Linked DNA regions of Homo sapiens: region 1 is linked to region 2. Evidence: promoter capture Hi-C in human tissues and cell types (Jung and others, 2019). All regions are on one chromosome and are shown on one strand. The core of a region is centred on a gene start or on the middle of the fragment in contact, and the rest is flanking DNA. Distances in the headings are between cores, read along the strand shown. Region 1 has its middle 34 kb from the start of SLFN5. Region 2 holds the start of NLE1 (notchless homolog 1).

The links. The method cuts DNA at HindIII sites, captures the fragments that hold promoters and counts their contacts. A contact is called where the count stands out against the background at its distance.
Region 1: a fragment that was not itself captured here is called in contact with the fragment with the promoter of NLE1 in region 2 in 1 of the 25 tissues and cell types used here (H1 embryonic stem cells).

The regions. Positions count from the first base shown.
Region 1 is chr17:35,274,278-35,279,739 of GRCh38, reverse strand. No RefSeq gene overlaps it. Among named protein-coding and RNA genes, the nearest start is that of SLFN5, 34 kb to the right of the region's middle. The HindIII fragment of the contact is 4,983 bases long and covers 1-4,203 here.
Region 2 is chr17:35,137,825-35,143,653 of GRCh38, reverse strand. It overlaps NLE1 (notchless homolog 1), which reads left to right and starts at 1,351. Exons shown (of 13, transcript NM_018096.5): 1 at 1,351-1,396; 2 at 1,532-1,675; 3 at 3,588-3,805; 4 at 4,340-4,419; 5 at 5,764-5,829. The coding sequence starts at 1,379. RefSeq lists an enhancer at 1,043-1,920. The HindIII fragment of the contact is 6,679 bases long and covers 1-3,817 here.

The DNA.
Region 1 (5,462 bases), core at 463-2,962, 140 kb before region 2:
TTTCTAGATATACAATCATGTCATCTGCAAACAGGGACAATTTGACTTCCTCTTTTCCTAATTGAATACCATTTATTTCCTTCTCTTGCCTGATTGCCCTGGCCAGAACTTCCAACACTATGTTGAATAGGAGTGGTGAGAGAGGGCATCCCTGTCTTGTGCCAGTTTTCAAAGGGAATGCTTCCAGTTTGTGCCCATTCAGTATGATATTGGCTGTGGGTTTGTCATAGATAGCTCTTATTATTTTGAGATATGCCCCATTGAGAGGTGACAGCGTGCTGTCAGTCCTCACAGCCCTCGCTTGCTCTCGGCGCCTCCTCTGCCTGGGCTCCCACTTTGGCGGCACTTGAGGAGCCCTTCAGCCCACCGCTGCACTGTGGGAGCCCCTTTCTGGGCTGGCCAAGGCCAGAGCCAGCTCCCTCAGCTTGAAGGGAGGTGTGGAGGGAGAGGCCTGAGCGGGAACCAGGGCTGTGCGCGGTGCTTGTGGGCCAGCTGGAGTTCCGGGTGGGCGTGGGCATGGCGGGCCCCAAACTCAGAGCAGCCGGCTGGCTCTGCCGCCCGGGGGAATGAGGGGCTTAGCACCCGGGCCAGCGGCTGCGGAGGGTGTACTGGGTCCCCCAGAACTGCCAGCCCACCAGCGCCGTGCTCGATTTCTCACCGGGCCTTAGCTGCCTTCCCGTGGGGCAGGGCTCGGGACCTGCAGCCCGCCATGCCTGAGCCTCCCACCCCCTCCGTGGGCTCCAGTGCGGCCGGAGCCTCCCCGACGAGCGCCATCCCCTGCTCCAGGGCGCCCAGTCCCATCGACCACCCAAGGGCTGAGGAGTGCGGGCGCACGGCACCAGGACTGGCAGGCAGCTCCACCTGCTGCCCTGGTGGGGGATCCACTGGGTGAAGCCAGCTGGGCTCCTGAGTCTGGTGGGGACGTGGAGGACCTTTATGTCTAGCTCAGGGTTTGTGAATGCACCAGTGGACACTCTGTATCTAGCTAATCTGGTGGGGACATGGAGAACCTTTGTGTCTAGCTCAGGTATTGTAAACGCACCAACCAGCGCCCTGTCAAAACAGACCACTGGGCTCTACCAATCAGCAGGATGTGGGTGGGGCCAGATAAGAGAATAAAAGCAGGCTTCCTGAGCCAGCGGTGGCAACTTACTGGGGTCCCCTTCCACACTGTGGAAGCTTTGTTCTTTCGCTCTTTGCAATAAATCTTGCTACTGTTCACTCTTTGGGTCCACACTGCTTTTATGAGCTGTAACACTCACCGTGAAAGTCTGCAGCTTCACTCCTGAAGCCAGCGAGACCACGAGCCCATGGGGAGGAACGAACAACTCCAGACGTGCTGCCTTAAGAGCTGTAACACTCACCGTCGAAGGTCTGCAGCTTCACTCCTGAGCCAGAGAGACCATGAACCCACCAGAAGGAAGAAACTCCTAACACATCCGAACATCAGAAGGAACAAACTCCAGATGCGCCACCTTAAGAGCTGTAACACTCACCACGAGGGTCCCTGGCTTCATTCTTGAAGTCAGTGAGACCAAGAACCCACCAATTCCGGTCACACCATCAATACCTAATTTATTGAGAGTTTTTAGCATGAAGCATTGTTGAATTTTGTCAAAGGCCTTTTCTACATCTATTGAGATAATCATATGGTTTTTGTCATTGGTTCTGTTTATATGCTGGATTACATTTATTGATTTGCGTATGTTGAACCAGCCTTGCATCCCAGGGATGAAGCCCACTTGATCATGGTGGATAAGCTTTTTGATGTGCTGCTGGATTCGGTTTGCCAGTATTTTATTGAGGATTTTCGCATCAATGTTCGCCAGGGATATTGGTCTAAAATTCTATTTTTTTGTTGTGTCTCTGCCAGGCTTTGGTATCAGGATGATGCTGGCCTCATAAAATGAGTTAGGGAGGATTCCCTCTTTTTCTATTGATTGGAATAGTTTCAGAAGGAATGGTACCAGCTCCTCCTTGTACCTCTGGTAGAATTCGGCTGTGAATCCATCTGGTCCTGGGCTTTTTTTGGTTGGTAAGCTATTAATTATTGCCTCAATTTCAGAACTTGTTATTGGTCTATTCAGGGATTCAACTTCTTCCTGGTTTAGTCTTGGGAGGGTGTATGTGTTGAGGAATTCATCCATTTCTTCTAGATTTTCTAGTTTATTTGTGTAGAGGTGTTTATAGTATTCTCTGATGGTAGTTTGTATTTCTGTGGGATTGGTGCTGATATCCCCTTTATGATTTTTTATTGGGTCTATTTGATTCTTCTCTCTTTTCTTCTTTATTGGTCTTGCTAGCGGTCCATCAGTTTTGTTGATCTTTTCAAAAAACCAGCTCCTGGATTCATTGATTTTTTGAAGGATTTTTTTTGTGTCTGTATTTCCTTCAGTTCTGCTCTGATCTTAGTTATTTCTTGCCTTCTGCTAGCTTTTGAATGTGTTTGCTCTTGCTTCTCTAGCTCTTTTAATTGTGGTGTTAGAGTGTCAATTTTAGATCTTTCCTGCTTTCTCTTGTGGTTATTCAGTGCTATAAATTTCCCTCTACACACAGCTTTGAATGTGTCCCAGAGATTCTGGTATGTTGTGTCTTTGTTCTTGTTGGTTTCAAAGAACATCTTTATTTCTGCCTTCATTTCGTTATGTACCCAGTAGTCATTCAGGAGCAGGTTGTACAGTTTCCATGTAGTTGAGCGGTTTTGAGTGAGTTTCTTAGTCCTGAGTTCTAGTTTGATTGCACTGTGGTCTGAGAGAGAGTTTGTTATAATTTCTGTTCTTTTGCATTTGCTGAGGAGTCCTTTACTTCCAACTATGTGGTCAATTTTGGAATAAGTGTGGTGTGGTGCTGAGAAGAATGTATATTCTGTTGATTTGGGGTGGAGAGGTCTGTAGATGTCTATTAGCTCTGCTTGGTGCAGAGCTGAGTTCAATTCCTGGATATCCTTGTTAACTTTCTGTCTCGTTGATCTGTCTAATGTGGACAGTGGGGTGTTAAAGTCTCCCATTATTATTGTGTGGGAGTCTAAGTTTCTTTGTAGGTCTCTAAGGACTTGCTTTATGAATCTGGGTGATCCTGTATTGGGCGCATATATATTTAGGATAGTCAGCTCTTCTTGTTGAATTGATCCCTTTACCATTATGTAATGGCCTTCTTTGTCTCTTTTGATCTTTGTTGGTTTAAAGTCTGTTTTATCAGAGACTGGGATTGCAACCCCTGCCTTTTTTTGTTTTCCATTTGCTTGGTAGATCTTCCTCCATCCCTTTATTTTGAGCCTATGTGTGTCTCTGCATGTGAGATGGGTTTCCTGAATACAGCACACTGATGGGTCTTGACTCTTTATCCAGTTTGCCACTCTGTGTCTTTTAATTGGAGCATTTAGCCCATTTACATTTAAGGTTAAGATTATTATGTGTTAGCTTCCTTCAGGAGCTCTTGTAAGGCAGGCCTGGTGGTGACAAAATCTCTCAGCATTTGCTTGTCTGTAAAGGATTTTATTTCTCCTTCACTTATGAAGCTTTAGTTTGGCTGGATATGAAATTCTGGGTTGAAATTTCTTTTCTTTAAGAATGTTGAATATTGGTCCCCACTCTCTTCTGGCTTGTAGAGTTCCTGCCAAGAGACCAGCTGTTAGTCTGATGGGCTTCCCTTTGTGGGTAACCCGACCTTTCTCTCTGGCTGCCCTTAACATTTTTTCCTTCATTTCAACTTTGGTGAATCTGACAATTATGTGTCTTGGAGTTGCTCTTCTCGAGGAGTATCTTTGTGGCGTTCTCTGTATTTCCTGAATTTGAATGTTGGCCTGACTTGCTAGGTTGGGGAAGTTCTCCTGGATAATATCCTGAAGAGTGTTTTCCAACTTGGTTCCATTCTCCCCGTCTTTTCACATAGTCCCATATTTCTTGGAGGCTTTGTTCGTTCTTTTTATTCTTTTTTCTCTAAACTTCTCTTCTCACTTCATTTCATTCATTTGATCTTCCATCACTGATACCCTTTCTTCCAGTTGATCAAATTGGCTACTGAGGCTTGTGCATTCATCATGTAGTTCTCGTGCCTTGGTTTTCAGCTCCATCAGGTCCTTTAAGGACTTCTCTGAATTGGTTATTCTAGTCAGCCATTCGTCTGATTTTTTTTCAAGGTTTTTAACTTCTTTGCCATGGGTTTGAACTTCCTCCTTTAGCTCGGAGTAGTTTGATCATGTGAAGCCTTCTTCTCTCAACTCGTCAAAGTCATTCTCCATCCAGCTTTGTTCCATTGCTGGTGAGGAGCTGTGTTCCTTTGGAGGAGGAAAGGCGCTCTGGTTTTTAGAGTTTCCAGTTTTTCTGCTCTGTTTTTACCCCATCTTTGTGGTTTTATCTACCTTTGGTCTTTGATGATGGTGATGTACAGATGTGGTTTTGGTGTGGATGTCCTTTCTGCTTGTTAGTTTTCCTTCTAACAGTCAGGACCCTCAGCTGCAGGTCTGTTGGAGTTTGCTGGAGGTCCACTCCAGACCCTGTTTGCCTGGGTATCAGCAGCAGAGGCTGCAGAACAGTGGATATTGGTGAACAGCAAATGTTGCTGCCTGATCGTTCCTCTGGAAGTTTTGTCTCAGAGGAGTACCTGGCTGTGTGAGGTGTCAGTCTGCCCCTACTGGGGGGTGCCTCCCAGTTAGGCTACTCAGGGGTCAGGGACCCACTTGAGGAGGCAGTCTGTCCATTCTCAGATCTCCAGCTCTGTGCTGGGAGAACCACTGCTCTCTTCAAAGCTGTCAGACAGGGACATTTTAGTCTGCAGAAGATTCTGCTCCTTTTGTTTGGCTGTGCCCTGCCCCCAGAGGTGGAGTCTACTGAGGCAGGCAGGCCTCCTTGAGCTGTGGTGGGTTCCACCCAGTTTGAGCTTCCTGGAAGCTTTGTTTACCTATTCAAGCCTGGACAATGGTGGGCGCCCATCCCCCAGCCTTGCTGCCGCCTTGCAGTTTGATCTCAGACTGCTGTGCTAGCAATGAGCAAGGCTCCGTGGGCATAGGACCCTCGGAGCCATGTGCAGGATATAATCTCCTGGTGTGCCATTTGCTAAGACCGTTGGAAAAGTGCAGCATTAAGGTGGGAGTGACCTGATTTTCCAGGTGCCATCTGTCACCCCTTTCTTTGACTAGGAAAGGGAATTCCCTGACCCCTTGCACTTCCCAGGTGAAGCGATGCCTCACCCTGCTTTGGCTCATGCGCGGTGCACTGCACCCACTGACCTGCACCCACTTTCCGATACTCCCCAGTGAGATGAACTCTGTACCTCAGTTGTAAATGCAGAAATCACCTGTCTTCTGTGTTGCTCACGCTGGGAGCTGTAGACTGGAGCCGTTCCTATTCAGCCATCTTGGCTCCACCCCCGAGATCTAACTCTTATTATGGAGTGGGGAGCAGTCATTCAGTCAATAGAAGGCATTTTTTTTTTTTTTGGCAAGGAAGGATAATCCTCTTAGG
Region 2 (5,829 bases), core at 102-2,601:
GCTGCATCGTGGAGAATGGGTAGAAAGAGGCAGGAATGGAAATGGGGGGGCTCATCGGGAGGCTGTTGTAGCGGTCCAGGCAGGTGATGATGGTGACTCTGACCAGAGTGAGGCAGTGGAGATGGGGAGAGCAGATTCAAGCTGTGTTCATGAGGATGACTTGGCAGAGCTTGAGACTGCCTGAGCAGTGGAGGGAGAGAGAGGAGAGTTGGCAAGGGAGATCCTTCGTTTCAGGCAAAAGAGCTCAAGTTCATTGCTGTCTGCTTCAGTTCCTCAGTAATATGGGGAGAAAAGGGTTGTAAGAATTAAATGAGTTATGTGGGAAAGCACTTAGAACAATTCCTGACTTGTTGATGTCATTATCACTATTATTGCTTTACAGCATTGATGATTGTAGAAATGATTTGCTTTTGTACTCGAGTATTATTGAGTTGATCCATTTTATTTATTTATTTATTTATTTATTTATTTATTTATTTATTTATTTATTGAGACAGAGTCTTGCTCTGTCATCCAGGCTGGAGTGCAGTGGTGAGAGCTCGGCTCACTGCAACCTCTGCCTCCCAGGTTCAAGAGAATCTACCACCTCAGCCTCTCCAGTAGCTATGACCACAGGCGCATGCCACCACGGCTGGTTAATTTTTTTGTATTTTTAGTAGAGACCTGGTTTCACCATGTTGGCCAGGCTGGTCTCGAACTCCTGGACTCAAGTGATCTGCTCGCCTGGGCCTTCCAAAGCGCTGGGATTACAGGTGTCAGCCACCACGCCCAGCCTTGACTTGATCCATTTTTAAAAGGATACTAATTTCTAGGCTAGGCGTGGTGGCTCACACCTGTAATCCCAGCACTTTGGGACACTGAGGCTGGGGAGTGGGGGACTTGCTGCTTGAGTTCAGGAGTTTGAGACCAGCCTGGGCAACATAGTGAGACCTCGTCTCTACAAAAAATGAGAAAAAAATAACCGGGCAGGGTGTCATGTGCCTGTAGTCCAGGCTACTCTGAGGCTGAGGTGGGAGGATCGCTGTGCCAGAAAGTTCGAGACTGCAGTGAGCCGTGGTGGCACCACTGCCCTCCAGTCTGGGCGACGGAGTGAAACTCTGTCTCAAAATGAAATTAAATTAAAATGGGGCAAGAATCCCTGTTGTGAAGAGTCAAAAGTTTACTGTGTCCTCTAAGACCCTGGCGAAAAATAAATGTGAAGGCTGTTGAGGGGCGGGAGGAGCACCAGGTAAGCCCATTTCTAATCCCTGAGGCCGTGCGCAGCGGGACGCTTCTCCTCCCCAACAGCAGAGGGCGATGTGGCCGGCGGCGACCCCGCCCGACCACGGAGACGGCGCTCTGTCTGCCGGGCTCTTTCTCCTCCACGTGGGGACGCAGGATGGCGGCAGCAGTGCCGGTGGGTGTGCGTGGATGGGGGCGGGGGGCGTCGCCGCGGGGCGCTAGGGCCCGGGTCCCTGAGGCCTGAGAGAGGCGAAGTGGGGCCCTTCTGGGCGGGCGACCAGACTGACTCCCGCCCCACTTGCTCGCGCAGGACGAGGCGGTGGCGCGCGATGTGCAGCGGTTGCTAGTGCAGTTCCAGGATGAGGGCGGGCAGCTGCTGGGTTCCCCGTTCGACGTGCCCGTGGACATCACCCCGGACAGGCTGCAGCTCGTGTGCAACGCGCTACTGGCCCAGGTAAGTGGCTGGCCAGGGCGGCCTCGCATCTCCACCCCCGGGCGGATGCGGTGGGGGAATCATATTACCGAGGGTCTGCGGTTCATGGTCCCCCGCTAACGGACTGTGGTGACCCACCTGGCGTGAGCTCCCACCTATGTCAGAGATGGAATCAGTGGCATAGCGCTTTACACGCCAACCAAAGGGGTCCACCTGCGGAGAGGGGCCTAGCTTTGAACGCACCGGATGCTGTATTTCATTGATTCTTTGTCACAGTCCCCCAGTCTGGGACACGTTAATATCCCCATTTTACAGCGTGGCCCGGAGGGACTCAGTATTTTGCACGATGCTATGTAGTAGGTAGCAGATTTGGAATTGGAACCCAAAACTATCCGAATACCCATGCTTTTATTTATTTATTTATTTACCTTTTTTTTTTTTTTTTTTGAGACGGAGTCTCACTTTGTCGCCAGGCTGGCAAGCTGGAGTGTAGTGGCGTGATCTCTGCTCACTGCAATCTCTGCCTCCCAGGTTCAAGCGATTCTCCTGCCTCAGCCTCCCGAGTAGCTGGGACTACAGGCGCGCGCCACCACACCCAGCTAATTTTTGTATTTTTAGTGGGGACTGGGTTTCACCACGTTGGCCAGGATGGTCTCGATCTCTTGACCTCGTGATCCTCCCGCCTTGGCCTCCAAAGTGCTGGGGATTACTGGCGTGAGCCACCGCACCCGGCCTTTGCTTTTAACCTTTAAGCCAGTGTGTTTACTGAAGAGCTGCCCTGGGGACAGGGGAGGTCCTTAAAATTGCAGTTCCTGGACCCCATCCCAGCCTTACTAAACCAAACTCTGGGATGAAGCAGAAAGTCTACATTTTTTAACAGGCGTTTTGGGAGCTTTTTACACAAATATAGTGTAGTGTGGTAGTTTGGGAAACACTGCATAATGCTATATGCTAATCCTATCTTGGACGTAAAGAACCTGAATTAATCATTGGCAATAGGACATTGAACTAATTACTTAGTTGTTCTGAGCCTCTGCTTTTGAAAACTGTCAGTGGGAATATTAGTATCTACTTCCCACGGTTGTTATGAGATGCAGATAAAGAATTTCAGGCCGGGTGCAGTGGCTTATGCCTGTAATCCCAGTACTTTGGGAGGCTGAGGTGGGCAGATCACTAGAGGTCAGGAGTTCGAGACCAGCTTAGCCAATATGGCGAAAACAGTCTCTACTGAAAATACAAAAATTAGCCAGGCGTGGTGGCAGGCGCCTGTAGTCCCAGCTCCTCGGGAGGCTGAAGCAGGAGAATTGCTTGAACCCAGGAGGCAGAGGTTGCAGTGAGCTGAGATCTCACCACTGCACTCCAGCCTGAGTAACAGAACGAGACTCCATCTCAAAAAAAAAAGAAAAAAGAATTTCCAAGTGCTGTGTAAGTGTCCTGCAACTGCTGTTCAGTGACTTAAAAGGTCTTGCTAGGCTGGGCACAGTGGCTCACGCCTGTAATCCCAGCACTTTGGGAGGCCGAGGCAGGTGGATCACCTGAGGTCAGGAGCTTGAGACCAGCCTGGCCAATGTGGCGAAACCCCGTATCTACTAAAAATATAAAACTTAGCCAGGCGTGGTGATGGGTGCCTGTAATCCCAGCTACTCGGGAGGCTGAGGCAGGAGAATCTCTTGAACCCAGGACGCGGAGGTTGCAGTGAGCAGAGATTGCTCCACTGCACTCCAGCCTGGGTGACAGAGCGAGACTCTTGTCTCAAAAATAAATAAATAAATAAATAAAAGGTCTTGCTCAATGGGCAATGATGGGGGTATCCCTAGCACGATGGCTGAAAAGAAGAAGCTTCACCTCCCACAGCTCAGTGGGGAGCATCCCTGGCAGAGGGTGCCCCTGCACATCCATTGTTGCGGGTTTGTCCTTTACCATTGTCCTTCAGGAGGATCCCCTGCCACTGGCTTTCTTTGTCCACGATGCTGAGATCGTCTCCTCACTGGGGAAGACGTTGGAGTCCCAGGCAGTGGAGACAGAGAAGGTCCTAGACATCATCTACCAGCCACAGGCTATCTTCAGAGTCCGGGCTGTGACTCGCTGCACCAGCTCCTTGGAGGGTCACAGTGAGGCAGTCATTTCTGTGGCCTTCAGCCCTACGGGAAAGTAAGGACAGCTGCAGACTCATGGAGGGGGTATGTGGGGGTGCAGTCTTTGCCTGGTTTGGGGAGGGTCTCCCAGAGTTATAATTGATGGGGCCTCAGGGCTGCCTACCATAGACCCAAGCTCTGGACTCAGCTTGCAATTAAGGGACTTCCTCAGTAGGGCATGGTCCCCAAAGGCTGCTTAAGGACCCCTGCCTTGGACAAACCTCTCCTAGACTTGATTTTTCAAGATCTGAGCTGTGTGACTTGTATAAATCACTTAACCTTTCCGAGTTAATTTTTCATCTGTGAAACTGGGATTAGTTGCTTCTCTCAAACTTAGAAAGGTAATGAGAAGCTTCAAAAGCTGGTTATAGCTGTGGAGAGGAAAGAAATGGCCTCCTGATGTATTCTCCCAGAGGACAGCATCAGTATTGTCTTTCTCCCTTCCAGGGGCGAGGAAAGAGTCCAGTTCCATATTCTATTCACAGAAAGTGATTGAATAGGTGGCACAAATGCACATGTGCAGTGTCAAGCATCCTCTCTTCTTCCCCAGGTACCTGGCCAGTGGCTCTGGAGACACCACCGTGCGCTTCTGGGATCTCAGCACAGAGACACCACATTTCACATGCAAGGGTCAGTATGCAATTAGCCATTTAGGGGGTCTTCTTTTTTTTTGAGACAAGGTCTTGCTCTGTTGACCAGGATGGAGTACAGTGGTGCAGTCACAGCTCACTTGAACTCCTGGGCTCAAGCCTTGAACTCCTGGGTTCAAGCAGTCCCCCTACTTCAGCCTCCAGAGTAGCTGGGATGACAGGCACTTGCCATCACACCTGGCTCGTTTTTTGTTTTCATACAGATGAGGGTCTCACTTTGCAGATTACAACCCCTTAATATCCAGTTGGCGGCTGTCTGTTCCTAGGTAGAGACCATGTCCTTGAGCCCAGCCAGCCACTTAGACACAAGCAGAAACTGCACCAAGGAGTCAATATGGGACATGGTGAGAGGCTGACTGACTGCTACCAAGGAGAACCTGGTTTAAATCCTGCCTCTGCCACAGTGGTTTTCAAACTTGAGCACAAATCAGAATTGCCCCGCCTCAGGGGCTTGTTAAAATGCAGATTGCTGGCCAGGCGTGGTGGCCCACACCTGTAATCCCAGCACTTCGGGAGGCCAAGGCAGGCAGATCACTTGAGGTCAGGAGTTTGAGACCAGCCTCGCCAACACAGTGAAACCCCATCTCTACTAAAACTACAAAAATTAGCCGGGCATGGTGGCGTGTGCTTGTAATCCCAGCCACTGGGGAGGCTGAGGCAGAAGAATTGCTCGAATCTAGGAGGCGGAGGTTGCAGTGAGCCGAGATGGCACCACTGCACTCCAGCCTGGGTGATGGAGTGTGACTCCATGAAAGAAAGAGAGAGAGAGAAAAGAGAAGAGAGAAAAAAATACAGATTGCTGGGCCCCACCCCCAGAGGTTTAGTTCTATTGGGCCTGGGGTAGGGCCTGGGAATCTGCATTTCTAACAAGTTCCCAGGAGATGCTGATGCTGCTGCTCTGACGACCACACTTGAAGAACCACTGCTATACCACAGATTAGTTAAGTGACCTTGTGTGTGTAGGGCATGTTCCCTTTCTAAGCTTCAATTTTCTCATCTGGAAAATGGGGATGATAATTCTTGCTTTGCTCCATAGCTTAGAGCTCTTGTGAGAAATAACAAGGGATGACATGTACAAAAACACTTCATAGCATGTGTCACATAAGGAGTCATTAGAGAGTGATGGTGTTATCCATGCAGCAAGATGCAGAGCTCTAACACTTGGGGTGCATTCTATCCATCCCCAGAAAGCCTCATCGCTCCTTTTGTTCAATCATTCATTTATTCAAATGGTTAAGGAGTACCTGGCACCTGACAGGCACTGCTGGGCACTTGGGATAAAGACAGATGTAGTCCCTTATTTCTCCCTCCTCTGCTTTCTTAGGACACAGACACTGGGTCCTTAGTATATCCTGGTCTCCAGATGGCAGGAAGCTGGCCTCAGGCTGCA